Regions from separate parts of the Homo sapiens genome. Here all the other regions are linked to region 5. Evidence: promoter capture Hi-C in 16 types of primary human blood cells and fetal thymus (Javierre and others, 2016). All regions are on one chromosome and are shown on one strand. The core of a region is centred on a gene start or on the middle of the fragment in contact, and the rest is flanking DNA. Distances in the headings are between cores, read along the strand shown.

Evidence for each region. Contacts are between HindIII fragments. The CHiCAGO score rates a contact against its expected background, and 5 or more counts as called.
Region 1: a fragment that was not itself captured here is called in contact with the fragment with the promoter of SH3RF3 in region 5 in 2 of 17 cell types (M0 macrophages and activated CD4 T cells); the score reaches 6.3 in M0 macrophages.
Region 2: a contact is called between a fragment that was not itself captured here and the fragment with the promoter of SH3RF3 in region 5, in 7 of 17 cell types (monocytes, M1 macrophages, M0 macrophages and 4 more). The highest score is 7.5, in monocytes.
Region 3: a contact is called between a fragment that was not itself captured here and the fragment with the promoter of SH3RF3 in region 5, in 1 of 17 cell types (M0 macrophages). The highest score is 7.0, in M0 macrophages.
Region 4: a fragment that was not itself captured here is called in contact with the fragment with the promoter of SH3RF3 in region 5 in 1 of 17 cell types (M2 macrophages); the score reaches 5.7 in M2 macrophages.
Region 6: a fragment that was not itself captured here is called in contact with the fragment with the promoter of SH3RF3 in region 5 in 1 of 17 cell types (neutrophils); the score reaches 5.1 in neutrophils.

What each region holds. Positions count from the first base shown.
Region 1 is chr2:109,470,611-109,473,310 of GRCh38, forward strand. The region is part of intron 8 of SH3RF3 (SH3 domain containing ring finger 3); the gene reads left to right. It also overlaps a transcript of RANBP2 not described here. Among named protein-coding and RNA genes, the nearest start is that of SEPTIN10, 140 kb to the right of the region's middle. RefSeq lists an enhancer at 136-255. The HindIII fragment of the contact is 4,424 bases long and covers 1-2,700 here.
Region 2 is chr2:109,488,022-109,490,721 of GRCh38, forward strand. SH3RF3 (SH3 domain containing ring finger 3) reads left to right here. Exons shown (of 10, transcript NM_001099289.3): 9 at 2,584-2,700. It also overlaps a transcript of RANBP2 not described here. Among named protein-coding and RNA genes, the nearest start is that of SEPTIN10, 120 kb to the right of the region's middle. The HindIII fragment of the contact is 2,700 bases long and covers 1-2,608 here.
Region 3 is chr2:109,451,162-109,453,861 of GRCh38, forward strand. All of the region lies in intron 8 of SH3RF3 (SH3 domain containing ring finger 3), which reads left to right. It also overlaps a transcript of RANBP2 not described here. Among named protein-coding and RNA genes, the nearest start is that of MIR4266, 140 kb to the left of the region's middle. The HindIII fragment of the contact is 8,803 bases long and covers 1-2,700 here.
Region 4 is chr2:109,412,116-109,414,815 of GRCh38, forward strand. The region is part of intron 4 of SH3RF3 (SH3 domain containing ring finger 3); the gene reads left to right. It also overlaps a transcript of RANBP2 not described here. Among named protein-coding and RNA genes, the nearest start is that of MIR4266, 100 kb to the left of the region's middle. The HindIII fragment of the contact is 8,736 bases long and covers 1-2,700 here.
Region 5 is chr2:109,127,898-109,130,597 of GRCh38, forward strand. It overlaps SH3RF3 (SH3 domain containing ring finger 3), which reads left to right and starts at 1,308. Exons shown (of 10, transcript NM_001099289.3): 1 at 1,308-2,216. The coding sequence starts at 1,644. It overlaps SH3RF3-AS1 (SH3RF3 antisense RNA 1), which reads right to left and starts at 2,222. Exons shown (of 1, transcript NR_029193.1): 1 at 1-2,222. It also overlaps a transcript of RANBP2 not described here. RefSeq lists silencers at 524-583, 964-1,033, 1,044-1,093, 1,124-1,323. The HindIII fragment of the contact is 8,501 bases long and covers 1-2,700 here.
Region 6 is chr2:109,541,375-109,544,074 of GRCh38, forward strand. SEPTIN10 (septin 10) reads right to left here. Exons shown (of 11, transcript NM_144710.5): 11 at 1,425-2,700. It also overlaps a transcript of RANBP2 not described here. Among named protein-coding and RNA genes, the nearest start is that of SEPTIN10, 71 kb to the right of the region's middle. The HindIII fragment of the contact is 1,382 bases long and covers 711-2,092 here.

The DNA of each region.
Region 1 (2,700 bases), core at 78-2,577, 340 kb after region 5:
ACACCAAGCTCCCTGGACTGGCTCTGACAGTGCCACGCATGGGGTGCCTAGAAACTGCTGTGGCCGGGGCTGGTGGAGGATGGGTCATCACAGAAATAGCAGAGCCAGAGGTGCAGATGTGCAGGAAGTAGAGGCCTCGGCTCAGCCACCCCTGTTCCACAGGCCACAGCTTAGAGAGACCCTTTGCAGGGAAGTCAGCTCACAGCAAACAAAGGGTGCTGACATTTCATTCCTTCTTCCTCATGATAAGAAATCTCTTCTGTTGCCTGAGGCAGAGTCAGTGTATTAGTCAATTTTCACACTGCTGTAAAGAAATACCAGAGACTAGGCTGGGTGCGGTGGCTCACGCCTGTAATCCCAGCACTTTGAGAGGCCGAGGAGGGCAGATCACTTGAGGTCAGGAGTTCGAGACCAGCCCAGCCAACATGGTGAAACCCCATCTCCACTAAAAACACAAAAATTAGTTGGGTGTGTTGGCAGGTGCCTCTAATCCCAGCTACTTGGGAGGCTGAGAATCACTTGAACCCAGGGGGCAGAGTTTGCAATGAGCCGAGATCGTGCCATTGCACTCCAGCCTGGGCGACAGACTCTGTCTCAAAAAAAAAAAAAAAAAAAAAAAAAGAAATTAATACCTGAGACTGAGTAATGTATAAAGGAAAGAGGTTTGATTGACTCTCAGTTTCAGCTGGGGGTGCCACAGGAAACTTACAATCATGGCGGAAGGCAAAGGGGAAGCAAGCACCTTCTTCACAAGGCGGCAGGAGAGAGAAGAGAAAGTGAAGGGGGAAGAATCCTCATAAAACCATTGGATCTCATGAGAACTCACTCACTATCACAAGAACAGCATGGGAGAAACTGCCCCCGTGATCTAGTCCCCTCCCTCCAGGTCCCTCTTTGACACATGGGGATTACAATTCTAGATGAGATTTGAGTGGGGACACAGAGCCAAACCATATCAGTCAGTGGCAAAATTCATCATTGGAACAGCTCATGTAGGCCCAGACACTGTTGTATTCCATGGGTGAGGAGGTTGCTGTCCAAGCCACCTGCTCCAGGACACATGCTGGGGCGGGGTCTAAGTCTCTTTCTTTTCCACTCACCCCCTTGCTGTCTCAGCCTCACATACCTAATAAGACGGTCCCAAGAGCTTAGCCATAGGAGATAGACTAATGCACAGTCCTGGATAGCTTGTCCTGCCTTTTTGCATGGGGCACGTCTTGTTAAACTTTTTCCACACTCTATTTGCTGAGACTATGCAGACACAGGGAGAGCAGATGCCTGGCAGTTCTCTAGAAGGCAGGGGCTGTGTGAACAGCAGTTCATGTAACTTGGTCTGAAGCAGGCCATTTTCCTCCATGGTTATATTGCCAATTCAGGGAGAAGCAGAGTCCTGGGCCCCCTGCACTGTGTGGCCCTGTAGCACAGTGTGCACCTGGATTCTGACATCTCAGCTTCTTTCAAATTCCCATCCTTTTCTAATTATTAATTAGATTGTTAATTATTATTAATTAGTTAATATGATTAACAACCACCTGTGACCTCATGGTAGCAGCTCCTTATAGAAATGTAGGAGCAGTCCCCAGTTAAAAATTAGATAGGGATAAAAGCCCAAATCAGGGCACTTATTCAGGGAGGTGCCACCTGGCCAGGGTCTGGGCTGCTCCAGGAAGACGGTGGCAGGAGAGGACCCGGCCAGGGGCCTCCCGGGCCCTCCTCACCTGCACTCTCGGTGGTCTCGGGCCGGTGTGCATGCAGGGTGTCCTGGAAGCAATCTTCCTTAAGAAGCACAGAAAGAGGAAATCCAAACCATCCTGCAGAGCTTGCGGGGCTTCCCGACGGGGCTTCCCGTCAGGGCTTGGCAAGCTGGCAGCCATCAGGAAGGACTTGTGGAAAGAAGAGCTTTGATTTACGGTTGCTGCCTCAGAAACCCCGATCCAATTGATGAACCGACCTGCGGCTGCCTTCTGGTTGGATGAAGTGATTTCCATCCATCTGTTTCATTTAAAAACAAAATTCAGGAAGTGAGCTTGCCATACCTGACTAAATAATAGTGTGTTTAATTTTTCCTGTTTCATTCCAGACATCCTTCAGAAGGAGGCCAGATTTTACAGAGATTTCATCTGAATGCATTCCATTTGATCTAATAATTTATGGCTGTGTTGTATTTGTCCTACAGAAAGCCAGCCAGACGCCCGTTGGAAATCCAACACACAGCAAAGTTATCCTAATGGACAGGGTCGTGACACACTCAGACATATCCCAGGGCAGACAGCCCTGCTCCAGCCTCTTATTTCTGTCTGTCCTACCTTTGGCCTAATCTCCTTTGAAGCAATTTTAAATGAATGAATGTGGTGCTATAAATTCTACCCGACTCGTGGGGCCTTTCCTACCTTAGTGAAAAGATAATGTGTTGGCTGAGATGGCAAGGAGACAGGGTCACATGGTGTTGCAGCCTTTCAGATGCGAGTCCCAAGAATCTAAAGAGAACTGACAGCCTGGCATTTAATCGCCCCTCATTTAACAGCATTAACTCAAGTTAACTCTTGCAAAGCTCTGTGATGGATTTTCCCAGGGAAGCGGCTTCCTGCCTAGACATACGAGCGCCTCACACAGGCCTGGGCTGGCCCCATTCGACGCCTGGGCACCACTGGGAGCCTGGAGCTGGGGTTGGGCCCTGCAGAGCCAGAGCCTCTTGGCCAT
Region 2 (2,700 bases), core at 9-2,508, 360 kb after region 5:
AATTCCTTTTCCTTTGGACAACGCAAGGCCACCCAGGTCTCCTGCCTGCCAGGAGGGGAGGAGCGGCCAGCAGCCCCAGAGCCTGCAGAGTGGGCTCCGCCGGGACACCTGGGGCAGGCCTGGCTTCTGTCCCCGCATCCTGGCCTGCTGTCCTTGTGACCTAGGGATCCCAGCCTTAGCACTGATGACATTTGAGGCCAGATAACCCTGCCATGGGGGGTTCCCTTGCATTGGAGTATGTTTACCAACATCCCTGGGATCTGCCCACCAGATGCCAGCAGCACCCCTGAGTTGTGACAGCCCAGATGTCTTCAGACATTGCCACCTGTCCCCTGGAGGCAAGGTCACCCTCTCATCAAGAACTCTTGCTGTGGGTTCAGGCCTCCTGGGGAGCCAGTTCCCACCCCAGGTACTGCAGTTCTTTCCTTCCTGGCCTGCGGAGGGGCTGACGGGCCCAGCTGCAGGGTCTCCCATCCCCAGGCCTTATGCCCTGCCTACATCGTGGCCTGAACAAGCCTCCTCACTCCCTGCCCCCAGGCACCCCACTCAGATCCCAGGGTTCTGCCCCCGACCCCTCACGGTTTCTTCTTTTCCTTTCTAGTTTCTACCCAAGCAGTTCCCGATGTGTGTTCCTGGGAACACTCTCCCTCAAGTTGTGCCGCCAACAAGAGTTCTCTGAGAACTAGACTCGGGAAACACCACACTTTGAGCTGCCAGCACATGAAGGGCTGCAACGAAATCCATGTCTAACTGATTGCTCTAGGCTGTTTCCTATTGCTCACAACCTCCAGGGCCTGGCACGGTGCACAAGACCTTCAGGAAGTTATTGGAGGGAGAGTGAGGCAGAGGGGAGATAGGCCGGGAGGCTGCAAGCCCAGTAGCGGAGTCAGGTATCTGGATCCCCGTGCTGCATGGCTCAGAGCTGGGCCGCCTCTTCCTCCTGAAATCACCCAGAACTCCCCATGGACTGTCAGTACAGAGCCTGAAAGCAGGAACAGCTGACCTCCAGGATGAGTCCAGCCTTGGAGGAAACACATTGAGAAAAGTGGGGAGCGAAGGCCGAGACTCAGGCAGTGGAGTTGGAGGCTGGGATCCACACTTGCCCAGGGCACACCTTCATTATATCTCTTTCCCTCTCTATTGCATAAGCAGCAGTGCCTGGGGCACAGGCTCTGAATGCAGTGGGATTAATGAATACAGTGGAACAAATGCTGGTCACCAAGGGTGATGGGGATGGTCCCTTTAGACACCTTATCGGGTGGAGACCCTTCACCGGGCACTAAGCAGTATCCCACAGCCACAGGCCCCCAGACCCTGGTACAGCTGCAACAACAATCCAGGCATGTGGCCTGGGGGGACTTGGCTGGGGCCGGAGCAGTTGTGCTCTTAGACAACCAGACCCCAGCGTGGCTTGGGCCTCACGGAAAGTCCCATCAGGAACCGTGTCACCTGTCCTACAAAGTCCACTTAGAAGAGCTGGGGGAGGAGAAAGCAGATGACATTGACTGCTGGTTCCTCTACACAGACAATGACGTTGCCAGGCTTGGCCAGGGTCCCGTGACAGAGAGGGCTGTGTTGTCGGGGATGGCCCGTCAGCAGCATCCTTCTCTGAGAATGGCATCACTGGCCTGCCCTGGGGGCCTCGGGGCCTATTTTGGACATTTCTGCTAGATTTTGGAAGAGAAAGGAAAACAAGTGTCGGACAAGGTTTTTTTTGGCGGGGGGTGGGCGGGGGGGACGGAGTCTCGCTCTGTCACCCAGGCTGGAGTGCAGTGGCGCAATCTCAGCTCACTGCAACCTCCACCTCCTGGGTTCAAGCTATTCTCCCACCTCAGGCTCCTGAGTATCTGGGATTACAGGCAAGTGCCACCACACTCAGCTAATTTTTGTATTTTTAGTAGAGACAGGGTTTCACCATGTTGGCCAGGCTGGTCTCGAACTCCTGACCTCAAGTGATCTGCCCACCTTGGCCTCCCAAATTGCTGAGATTACAGGCATGAGCCACCGTGCCCAGCCTGGATGAGCTCTTGGTCTTAGCTTTGTTTTCCTCCTCTGAGCCACTTTACAAGGTTATCTTTAAAGTTTCCTGATGGAACCATTCTCCATGGGTCTCTCACCCTTCTACCCATCTTACAACTGAGATGCCATCTGCTGGCCTATCTTTTCAAGATGTCCATGTAGGCACCAGCCTTGGAAAATAGAAATAATGTCAGTCTTCAAAGCAAAGAGCAGGCATGCTTACTGCTTGACTCCGGAGCAGAGGGCCAGCATCCTCACAGTCCAGTAGAGAGGATTTGGTGTCCCGAAGCTCCAGGTCCTCTGCTTTAACACAGCCTGGTGTGCCTGCAAGCGTCACCTGGCCCTCACTGGTTCACCCGTGGGAACTGGGGTTCAGGGAACTGGTGCAAGAAAATGCTGGTACTCTGGCTACTGCTGTTGCTGTGAGTGGTAAAGTCTTTTGTCTGAAAAAATAAGAAATTTAAAAATAAAGTTCCACATAGGAAGATGCATTCCCCTCTCTCTGACAGCAAGGGCATTGGGAAGCATTCACCTGTTTGGTTTCCATCTTGTGTGTCTCCCCAGAAAGAGAAGAAGAGTGGGCTCCTGAAGCTTCTAGCCGGAGCATCCACCAAGAAGAAGTCACGCTCCCCGCCATCTGTGTCTCCAACCCACGACCCCCAGGTGGCCGTGGACGCCCTG
Region 3 (2,700 bases), core at 141-2,640, 320 kb after region 5:
AGCAAAGCTCAGGTCTGCTCCAGCCTAACAGGGCGCCTGGCATGAAGGGCAACAGCTGCTCTGTGTTTTGTGTGTCTGTTTGAAGATCAGTTCAGTCTTGAATCTGTTCCCTTCTACCCTGCAGCCCTTGTTATGAGATGTGGCTGGGTCTCATCAGGAGGGAGAGGTGGGATTCACAGTCCTACCCTCTCACTTAAGCATTCTTCCTTCTTCTGAGCTGCTCAGAAACAACCAGGGGCAGACTTGGAAAGTGGGGGCTGTAATAGTTCCTTAAGCATTTCTAGTTCTTTGCCCAAGAATTCCCTCTCTCTAGTTTGTGAAGCAAATGGGACTGGCTTCAATAATACCATTGCTGAGTGGGTTTCTATGACATTACGTCCTGTACGAATCTACACGGAGGATGATGCTGTTCCCCATCACCCACCTAAGTGTGAAGCTAATGAACACCAGCTGAGTCTGTTCCTAGCCTGCCTGTTAGACACTTTGTAAATATTTCGCTTTCTCTTAAGGTTTATGCCCTCTAACAGTTGTGCTATATCAGCAAAGAACAGTTGAGTCCAGAAGACACCCCAACATCCCTCTTGATGAAAGGCGACATGCAGGGACGCCCTGCCATGCAAGCTGCACATACAGTGGCTCAGCCTCCTCCTCCCCTGATAGCTCCCGAGCCTCTGTGGGCAGCAGAAGTGCGTAGGCCACGCTTGGGGCTGGACACATGCTGTGGGAGCAGTCCACGCTGCACTCCAGGCAGGAGGGGAAGTGGTTTTTGTGAGGCCCTCTGAGCTTATGTCCAGAGGTTCAGCAAACCCCAGCAGAGAAGCACATTGCCCTCCCACACATTGTGTGTGCTTTTCATTCCCACCTCTCATAAACAACAAAGACAAGCACTGGTCTACAAAACCACCTGTGAACATTTTGCCCATCTGTGTTCCCACTTGAATTTCTCCTAATTTGCAGCAGGGCCCAAGGCATTTACAGCTGCCATTTGCAGCAGAAGAGCAGAAATGATGGTCATTTTAGTCCACTGCTCAGAAGCAAGTGAGCCAGTGTGACCTGCACCAGCAGACTGTGCTGGGCTAGGGGGCTGCAGCCAGCACACTCCCTGCAGGCCGCTTCCTGAGCCCCACCCCTCCATGACTACACTAAACAGGCTTCCTAACTTTGGGCAACTTGATCATAGATGTACACATGTCTAATTATGGCAAAGGTTTTTTAAAGCATTTGGCAGTATTCTCCAGTCTGTTTCTGTTAAATTTTCTTTGGGAAAAGACAGTGAGCTCCTCACTCCCACATCCACTGATGCATATACCTCAGTGCAGCGCAGTTTCCTAGCGCTAGTGCTGCTAAATTCCACCCAGGCCCTTCCATGCATGTACCAGAGAGAAGGCAGGGTGGATACAGCTCCTGGGCGCCGTAGAGTAGGGAGTAATTTTCTCCTAGGAGCGTGGGAGATTTACGCGCCATATCCCTGTGTGTGGAGAAGGAAGAAGCCCCAAAACCAGCTCTGTGTTGTGTGGTGTCAGTGGCTATGGTCAAGGTCCCAGGAGGCTGGTTCCCGGGAGGCTTGTGCCAGGAGGCTTGTCCCCAGGAGGCTGGTGCTGGCAGGCTGGTCCCAGGAGGCTGGTCCCTGGGAGGCTGGTGCTGGGAGGCTGGTTCTGGGAGGCTGGTGCCAGGAGGCTGGTCCCTGGGAGGCTGGTCCCGGGAGGCTGGTGCCAGGAGGCTGGTCCCAGGAGGCTGGTCCCGGGAGGCTGGTGCCAGGAGGCTGGTCCCGGGAGGCTGGTGCCGGGAGGCTGGTCCCTGGGAGGCTGGTCCCTGGGAGGCTATTCCCGGGAGGCTGGTCCCCGGGAAACTGGTCCCCGGGAGGCTGGTGCTCTGCTGCTATATCCAGGGGGATTGGGCCTTTGAGCTCTGTTCCCTGCGTGGCCCGATGTGGTGTGCAGGCCTCTGGGGATAATACAAGTGCAGACAGAGTGGCAGTTCTTTCTCCAGACCCATTCCTGAACCAGAGCTCCTCTCTGGGCCCAGGCATCTGCCAGCCTATGCAGGAACCTCTCCAGCCTACTCTCCCAGGTCTCTTCCTGCCCACCTGCCTGATCATATTGCTCCCTGCAGGGGCTGCCCTGTGGCCAGGCCCCCAACACCCACAAGTTACACAGTAGAACTCAAATCTGGTTTTAAAAGGTGGTCTTCAGGATTTAAGTTATCCTTTTGCACTTAAAAATGAATTTTGTGCTTGAAACAACCATGGAACACTGCCTATTGTGTCCATCCGTGACAGTTTTCTGGTTTTGAAACTGTGTGAGCACATCAGCACCAGGTGATACGAACCCTCAGGGTACCTAAGTCCAGGGGAGAGTCACCCAGAAGAGAAGGGTGCAATGGGCTGCGTGCAGTTGGCATCCCTAACCACCCGACCGGCCATCACTCACTCTCTTACTTGTGCCCCAATCCCTGACTCATCTGTGTATTGCAAAGAGCATGAGGATGTACCTGGCAGAGCGCAGGCACACGGTTCATAATGATGGAAAGGTCAACCCTGGCCTGGAGGAGCCAGAGTATAGTACAGGTCACTGTACAGGTAAACAGGCGATTGATTGCAGGAGAGGGTGGGTGATTGACCTGCGTGTGGGAACAGAGGGTCACCGACAAAGGCGCCTGGTCAGCCCAGGTCAGGGGAGACTTCCCGGGGCACAGATGGGA
Region 4 (2,700 bases), core at 183-2,682, 280 kb after region 5:
TGGATGCCGGCACAGATGGGATGGTGAGCCTTCGGCCGCCGTGGTCCACGATGCGTGTGCTCCGCACAGTGTGCACTCTCAGCCTAGCCTTCAGCCTCTGCCCAGCAGACAAAACACAGTCTCCTTGGTCTCTCCTGGCCAAACACATTGCCCCCCTTTCATTGGAGTATGGCTTGAGCAGCTCCAGGACATTGGGAGGTGGAGATCCAAGTGCCGGGGCAGGCTTCAGGCAGGCCACCCTCCCAGTGTGGCCCCAGCGTGGCTCTGGCTGTGCTTTGCTTGTGCTATGCTGGTTTGGGACAGCTTGGCTGTTTCTGGAGCATTTATCTGAACAGGACAGCAGGCATGGTAACAACAGCAGGACCAGTGCGTGCCTATCATCTTAGGTTCCCACTCTTCCCGCTGCTGCAGAGCAGAGTGCCAGTGCCTGGGAGCACAGAACTGCCAGCCCAGCCCCTGCTGGTGCTGCAGGGTCACCCCTGCCCTTTGTCAGCTCCCAGGATCCCCTGACAAAGATGGCACATGGGGGATCGAGAAAGATACGGGCTTACCGTCAGCCAGACCTCAAGTGTTAACTCTGTTATTCTTCTCATACCACTGTGGAAATGTTTCAGGAAACCATTGTCACTTGATATTAAAGTGTAGATTAAAAAATAATAAAATTATCCCAAAAGGCAACTCCCCAAAGGAGCAAAGTTATGGTTTGGTATGTAAGTTTCCTGACTTCTTGCCATGAAAATACACGTATCACTGTCAGAAATTAGATAAGCCTTCATATGCAATGCTGTCACCTCCATTTCCACTCTGCATACCCTACATGGCCCTCCAGGCCTGTCCATGGAGACCACGGCACAGGCGGCAGTGGGGCATTCTGTGTCCTTGTCAGCCTGCCAGCCCCACACCCTGGAACTTCAGGAGTGCAGGTTTTTCGTATCATAAACAGTGCTGCTGCGAAATCCTTACCTGTACCTCCTTTCTGACTTGTCTGATTATCATTATTTTATATATATATTTTTTGAGATAGAGTCTTGCTCTGTCGCCCAGGCTGGAGTGCAGTGGCGTGATCTCAGCTCACTGCAACCTCCGCCTCATGGGTTCAAACGATTCTCCTGCCTGAGCCTCCCAAGTAACTGGGATTACAGGTGCTTGCCACAATGCCCAGCTAATTTTTGTATTTTAGTAGAGACAGGGTTTCACCATGTTGGCCAGGCTGGTCTCGAACTCCTGACCTCAGGTGATCTGCTTGCCTTGGCCTCCCAAAGTTCTGGGATTACAGGCGTGAGCCACCACCCCAGGCCTGTCTGGTTATTTTAGGATTCATTCTTAACAGGAAACTGCCGGGGCTACAGGCTTTTTTTCCTGCCCTGTCTCTGTCTGTCTGTCTCTTTCTATCTCTGTCTGTCTACCTCTGTCTCTCTCTGTGTCTCTGTGTCTTCCTGTCTGTCTCTCCCGCTCTAGAATGGAGAACAGCTTTGTCTACAAGCCCAAATCACCAGGACCTGGGGCTGTATGAGAACGTCTCTGGCCCCCACATTCCCCTCCCTATTCTGTGCTCTGGGGCAGCACGCCTGCCCCCACCAGCCCTCCACACAGCATAGACATGTCATGAGGGCCATGCCTTGTAGGACCTGAGTTTGCAGACTTCTCTGTTACTAACTATGGCAGAATGGGACAGAAACCAGGGGACTGTGGGTCCACTGGCCCAAGCCAGGAGTGAGGGCTTTCCCTGCAGGGAGCACACTGGGGTCTTCCGCATCCCATGAGTGGGATCAAGAGGTGTAACTCCCCACCAGTGGTCCAGCAGGGGCAGTCACCTGCCCCAGGAAGCGCCTGTGCATGTCAGCATTCCCAAGACCAGTGGGTCCTTCTAGGTCCTTGGCTTCCTTGGCCATTCCACAGCATGCAGCTCAATGGACAATGACATTCCCTCTGAAGCACCATCTCCCCTGGGCTATGGGTCTCCTTCTGTTTATTGGGCTGCCCCATCTTGGCCTCCTTCAGGGCCCTCTTCTGGGTGGTGTCCCGCAGATGGGGCCAGGGCATGCTCCCTCCTCACTGTCTCCCAGGCCACTGCACCGTCTACCCTGTTGGCTTCAGGACAACGATCACGAGCCTTTGTTGAGGGCCTATTCTGTGTACTTAGAGTGACTGCTTTATAGCCTGTGGGTTGTCTGACTTCATACTCCAGCTGTCTAGACCATGCAAGCTGCCACAACCCCATCTTCTCATGTCTTGGGGACTCTGTCCTCCACTGCTTGATTTCTATAGTCTTGGGAGCTATTGATTCAGGTTTCATCTGGTTTTTCAGTTTTTTCAGGCAGGAGGGTAAACCTGGCCCCTGTTACCATCATGGTCAGAGCAGAAGTTCATGACCCTCAATGGACACGAGGAGCAATCAGAGGCTCACAGACGCCATCTTGGCTACGGTCACAAACACAGGTCACACACCTGGGAGCTAAGGGCTTTGCCACAAGACTGCATTGCCTCATAGATCAGCTATACATACATGACCCCAGATCTGCTGCCCAGGCCAGTCCCTTCTGAGCTCCTGATTGGCATTACCAGCACCCTCATCATCCACACTGAGACATCTCCAGGCACACCAAACACTGCGTGTCCAGCACTGAGCCCATGGCCTCTGTGGTCTCTTGTTCCTGTCTCTCCAGCAGCATTTCCATCTGGCCAAGGCTAGAAACTCGG
Region 5 (2,700 bases), core at 58-2,557:
TTTAGAGGATTAAATAATATATAGCACGCTCTTGGCCTTTTAGCCTCAACAAATACTACTTTTTTCCTTAATAATAACAGAAAGATCATACAACTTCACAAACCACAAGGACAGGCTGGCCGATAGGCAGGCCCCCCACGACTCTTCTGATGTTAGCCCTGACTGAACTCGCTGTGCAGCGTCCAACCAATCCTGGTTTGTGCTGGGCCCTGGACTGGAACCCAGCCCTTCCCGACGGGAACGCAAAGCGGCCACGAGGGGGCAGCGCACGGCAGGGAATCTTCGCCGCCGACCCCAGCCCACCGCCAAACTTCCCTGCTGCTCTCGGTCCTCCTGTACGTACTTCCGTTGCTCTGACGCTCCCAGAAGCCGGGGCGTCGGGAAGGAGAGCGCGAATTCACCCTCCTCTGCGCCTCCGTAGGAAAAAATTGGAGCGGGGGTTCACGAGACTGCGCCGCGGCGGGCGCTAGAGCCCCTCGCACAGCGTCGCCAAGGGTGCGGCGTGGAGCCGGGCGCCTGGCGCCAGGGTGCTGGTCGGCGGGCAGCGGCGCCAGCCTCCGACCCGCGACTCCGGCGAGCCAAGGCTGCGCCGGGAGGAGTCGGCGCGGGCCCCGGGGTGCCCCCTTCAACTGGAGCGCCTTCCCCTCCTGCCTTGCGGCGCATCCCCACACCTACACCGGAACGAAGCTCCGGGGCTGTCACTTCTGCGCGCTTCTCGGAAAGGAGTCTGAACTGGGAGCGCTCCGGGGGGTCGTCGGGGAGGATGCCCGGGCGTCGGCTGTGTCCCCAAGCTGCTCGCCGGCGCTGGCGAGGAAGGCAGTCGGGATAACGCCGCCCAAACTTTCCTTCGCAGCAGCGTTGGCAGGAAACGTCCCTCTCTGAGGCTCACGAAAAGCCGAAAAAGACTCGGACGCTTGGAGGAGGCAGGGCCAAGCCTGCGCAGGAGAGGTTCCCCGGAGCCCTGGAGATGTCCTAGGGGACCAGGCTAATCGCCGGCTTGCGCCCAAGCGAAGGGAAGTCCTGCAGGCACGGCGCCTCCTTCCCTGAGCCCCGCAGTGACCGTGACCTCCGCGCGCACCCCCGCGCACGTGCTCGCGGCCGAGGAAGAGGAACGGTCCTGCTGAATCCTCTGGAGGACAGCGACTAGCGAGCAGGCCAGGGGCGCATGGAGGTGCCGCGGGGGCGGTGCGGCTCGCCAGCTGCGCGGAGGAGCGTGCACGCCGCGCCCCGGCCTCCCCGGGGACCTGGCCGGCCGCTGCCCGCACTTCCTGCCGCTGGTCTCCCAGGCGCGAGCCGCCGCTTGCAGCACAGAACCCGTTGAGCTTCGTGCCCGGCAGCACCCCCGGTCCCCCGCGCGGGGCGGACTTGCGGCGGGACAGGTGTAGCCCGCAGCCGCAGGCGCTGCGCTCAGGACTGGGCGGGCTCGGCTGGCCGGTCCCCGCCACGCAGGCCGGTCCCCGCCACGCAGGCCGGTCGGTGAGCCACTTCGCACCGCCACAGCCCTAGCATCGGGCCACCAGCCGGGGTGAAGAAAGTCACGGCGGAGCCCGGCTCCCCAGTCCTGATGCTGGCTGCCGGTGGCGGGCTCCACGCCGGCCCCGGGACCTAGGCAGCCGCGCGAGACCGCTGCGGGCGCCTCCCCCATGCTGCTCGGAGCGTCCTGGCTGTGCGCATCCAAGGCGGCCGCCGCTGCTGCGCAGAGCGAGGGCGACGAGGACAGGCCAGGCGAGCGACGGCGGCGTCGGGCGGCGGCCACCGCCGCGGGGGCGGGCGAGGACATGGACGAGTCGTCGCTGCTGGACCTGCTGGAGTGCTCCGTGTGTCTGGAGCGCCTGGACACCACGGCCAAGGTGCTGCCATGCCAACACACTTTCTGCCGCCGCTGCCTGGAGAGCATCGTGTGCTCGCGCCACGAGCTGCGCTGCCCCGAGTGCCGCATCCTGGTGGGCTGCGGCGTGGACGAACTGCCCGCCAACATCTTGCTGGTGCGACTGCTGGACGGCATCCGTCAGCGGCCCCGCGCGGGCACCAGCCCCGGCGGCAGCCCGCCCGCGCGTCCCATCCCAGGCCAGAGTGCGGCCCCCACGCTCGCGGGCGGCGGGGGCGGCGCGGCAGGCAGCACCCCGGGTTCCCCGGTTTTCCTCTCCGCGGCCGCGGGCAGCACCGCCGGCAGTCTGCGGGAGCTGGCGACCAGCAGGACCGCGCCGGCGGCAAAGGTGAGTATCTGTCTCGGCGGAAGTGGCCACGGCACGTGGGAGTGTGTGGGTGGGTGCTTGGGCGTGGGGGGCAGTGATGAGGTGCGGAGGAGACCACGGGTGGTCCTGCGTTGGCCCACTCCGCTGTTGCTCTTCCTCCAACTTCGCTTGCTTGGTGGCGGCATCCGGCCCCTGGGCAGCTCGCCGCTTGTTCACGTGTGTCCCATCCTCCTGTGGAGTGGGCACGCCTTCCTGTCCCGTCGCTCACCCCCGATTCCTTGGCCGGACTTGTTACCCTGCCTCTTAAACTTAGCATCGCCCTTGCGTCTCCCTAGAAACGGGGACCTTCTTCCTCTGGGTCCCCAGACACTCCCTCTGCACACCCTGGGCCTGCCTAGAGAAAAGTTAGCCCTTAACGTTTCTGACAGGGCTCTGATGGCTGCTCTGGGAAGCCCGCGGGCCTCCTGCCTGCGGTGTGGCTAAGGAGGGGAGGGCAGAAGGCAGA
Region 6 (2,700 bases), core at 152-2,651, 410 kb after region 5:
TACATTCCTTTCTACATCAGTATTGTTTAAACACTCCTTAGGTGAGTCTATTGTATCTCTAAAGGGTTGGCCTGCCCCGGCCCAGCTCCCCCTGCCTGCCAGTATCTCCTTCCCATAAACCCTGGAGAACACCTAACCTTGTGAGGCCAAGCCTTTCAATGGCTCCCACTGCCTGCCAGACGGGATTTATAAACTTTCCTGGGATTTATAAACCCATTCCTTAACTGCTTCTGAAACCTGGCCCTTACCGGAGCCCCACTCCTTGCTGGTACTCTGATGGTGCTCAGCTACCTTCCAGTGCACACAACATGCTGTGCCTTGTACTAGGAATGCCTCCTTCTTTCATACTCTGGATAAACTGCTCCAGTCCTTCAGGACCAGTCACTTCTTTGGACGGCTCCTTGTGATCTGTGAGAGGCAGACACCCTTTTGAGAGTGCCCTGCTCCAAACCTACTTGGTTGTCCAGCCTGCTCCGGCTGCTCCATGATGCATGGATGACCTGAGTCATGTGTGTGTCCCCATTTCCTGGCCCAATAGGAACACGGGGCTTACACTGAGTTCATCCACAATATAGTGATAATAATCCCTGTAATGCTTTTTCCTTGTGTTGCTTTGAAGTTCAAATCCTAGTCTATGTGAAAGGGCTTTAAAAGTCGGAGGGAGTACGTACCAGGATTAACGGCTGTTAGTTAGAGACAACTGTTTCATAAGCTTAATGGGAAAAATTTTTAACAAAACATGACTAGCTTTATTTTATTCCCAGGAGATTATGCCTCAGTGGATAATTCATTTTCTAATCTTGTGCCTGATGATAAATTAGCTTTGTAAGAAGAAGTCATTAAAAAATTTTTTCTTTGTTGTTCAACTCTTTTAAAATAAAATCTTACATGGAACCCAAATATATGAAATGAATTAAAAATTCACATTGCGGCTGAAGCAGGAGTGAGGCTTTCTCACAGCAGTCATCAGCAGTACAAAACGACCGCCCTGCTGTTAAGTCTAGAGAGTCTCAGGCAGGTTTATTACGTTCTTTTCAACCAGAAACTTGAATAACTGTTTACCATTCCAACAACCTATCTCACACTTCAAAGTACGTTCTTCAGAGTTAAGGAGAGCTGCTTTATAAACAGTATGGTCAAATATAGCCACATATGTAACAAACACTCCCGCAGTGTCATCGAGCCCATCTGTGAACAGTCTGCTCAGCTGGCACTAAGTACCGTGATGCTGGCCTGGCTCTGTACCTCAGGTCACCTACCCTCCAGGACTCCCTGCCTACCAGAACCTGGGTGTCACTGATCTTGCGAAGAAACTTCTGAGCTTGTTCTATGACATGTATAATTTAATTTACTGAAGTTTTAAAAGACTGAGAGACATCTGTGAATTTCAAATGCAAAAATAAAATTTAAAGTATACAGATAAATTGTGCTATGCAAGGTTTTATTTACAACTTAGATGACTCTATGATTGCTCAGAATCTGACACAGACTAATAAGTTTCATTGTCTGAAAATACTCATAAAATACCTCATCTCCAAAATAATTCAAATACATAATTAAATGAACGTTTTTAAAATGAGAGTTTTCAGAAAGGAAAATTAAACACATTTTAGTAAATATATGTTTTATTTGTCAAGAGTAAATGTCAGTTTTATTTAGAATATTCAAGTACAAAAAATGAAAATGTATATATCTATGACTGTTAAGAAATGTTAGAAATCATTAAAATGTTCTGAGAATACCAGTAAGGCACTGAATGCAAATACCACCTGAAATATGAATTATGTGCATTTTTATATCTTTAATATTCAGATGTTCATAGTTATTTTCTTAAAAAGTATTTTTAATAAAATGATTCAACCTTATTATTTTTACCCTGGAAGACAGAGTTTAAACAAGTATGTAATGAAAAGTTTTCCTAATGAAAGCTGTGATACACTCATGCTCAAAGGTACTTTATCCTTAGGAAAAAATAGCTTATATATCTGGATGTTTTAACTTTTAAAGATATTTTGTTTCACCACAGTAATACGTCAGCCATAATAAGGCATAATAAAGCATGAAGTCATCATATTAAATAATCTGACACAAAAGCTTAAGATCATATCACCAATTGGGTAATTGTATAAAAAATTTTTAAGTTCTATAAAACTATTAAGAGGTTAGAGTTTTAGCTCCATAATACATCCCAAAACATATTCCCCAAAATTTTTAGCATATATAAAAAAGGTTCATCTTGGAATATAAATGTAATCAGATAGCCACGATATTAATGGGTTCTGTATTTTCAGTGGCACTGACTTCGCTCTTTGGTATAATGCACTGCAGTGACAATAGCTTGGTAGCAAGAGAAAAGATTTAGATTCATCACAGAACAGCAACTTAAACATTTCTAACAACAGTGAATATATATGAATATATAGGTACAAGCTGAGTATCCCTTATCCAAAATGCTAGGGACCAGAAGTGTTTTGGATTTCAGGTTTGGAATATCTGCATATACACAACGGGACCCGACTCTAATTACATAATTCATGTTTCACATCCACCTTATACATATAGCCTGAAAGTAATTTATACAAAAATTTTGTGCAAGAAACAAAATCTGTTTAAACTGAACCATCAGAAAGCAAAGGTGTCGGGTGGGGAATTTTCCACTTGTGGGGTCAAGTCAGTGCTCAAAAAGATTCAGATTTTGAA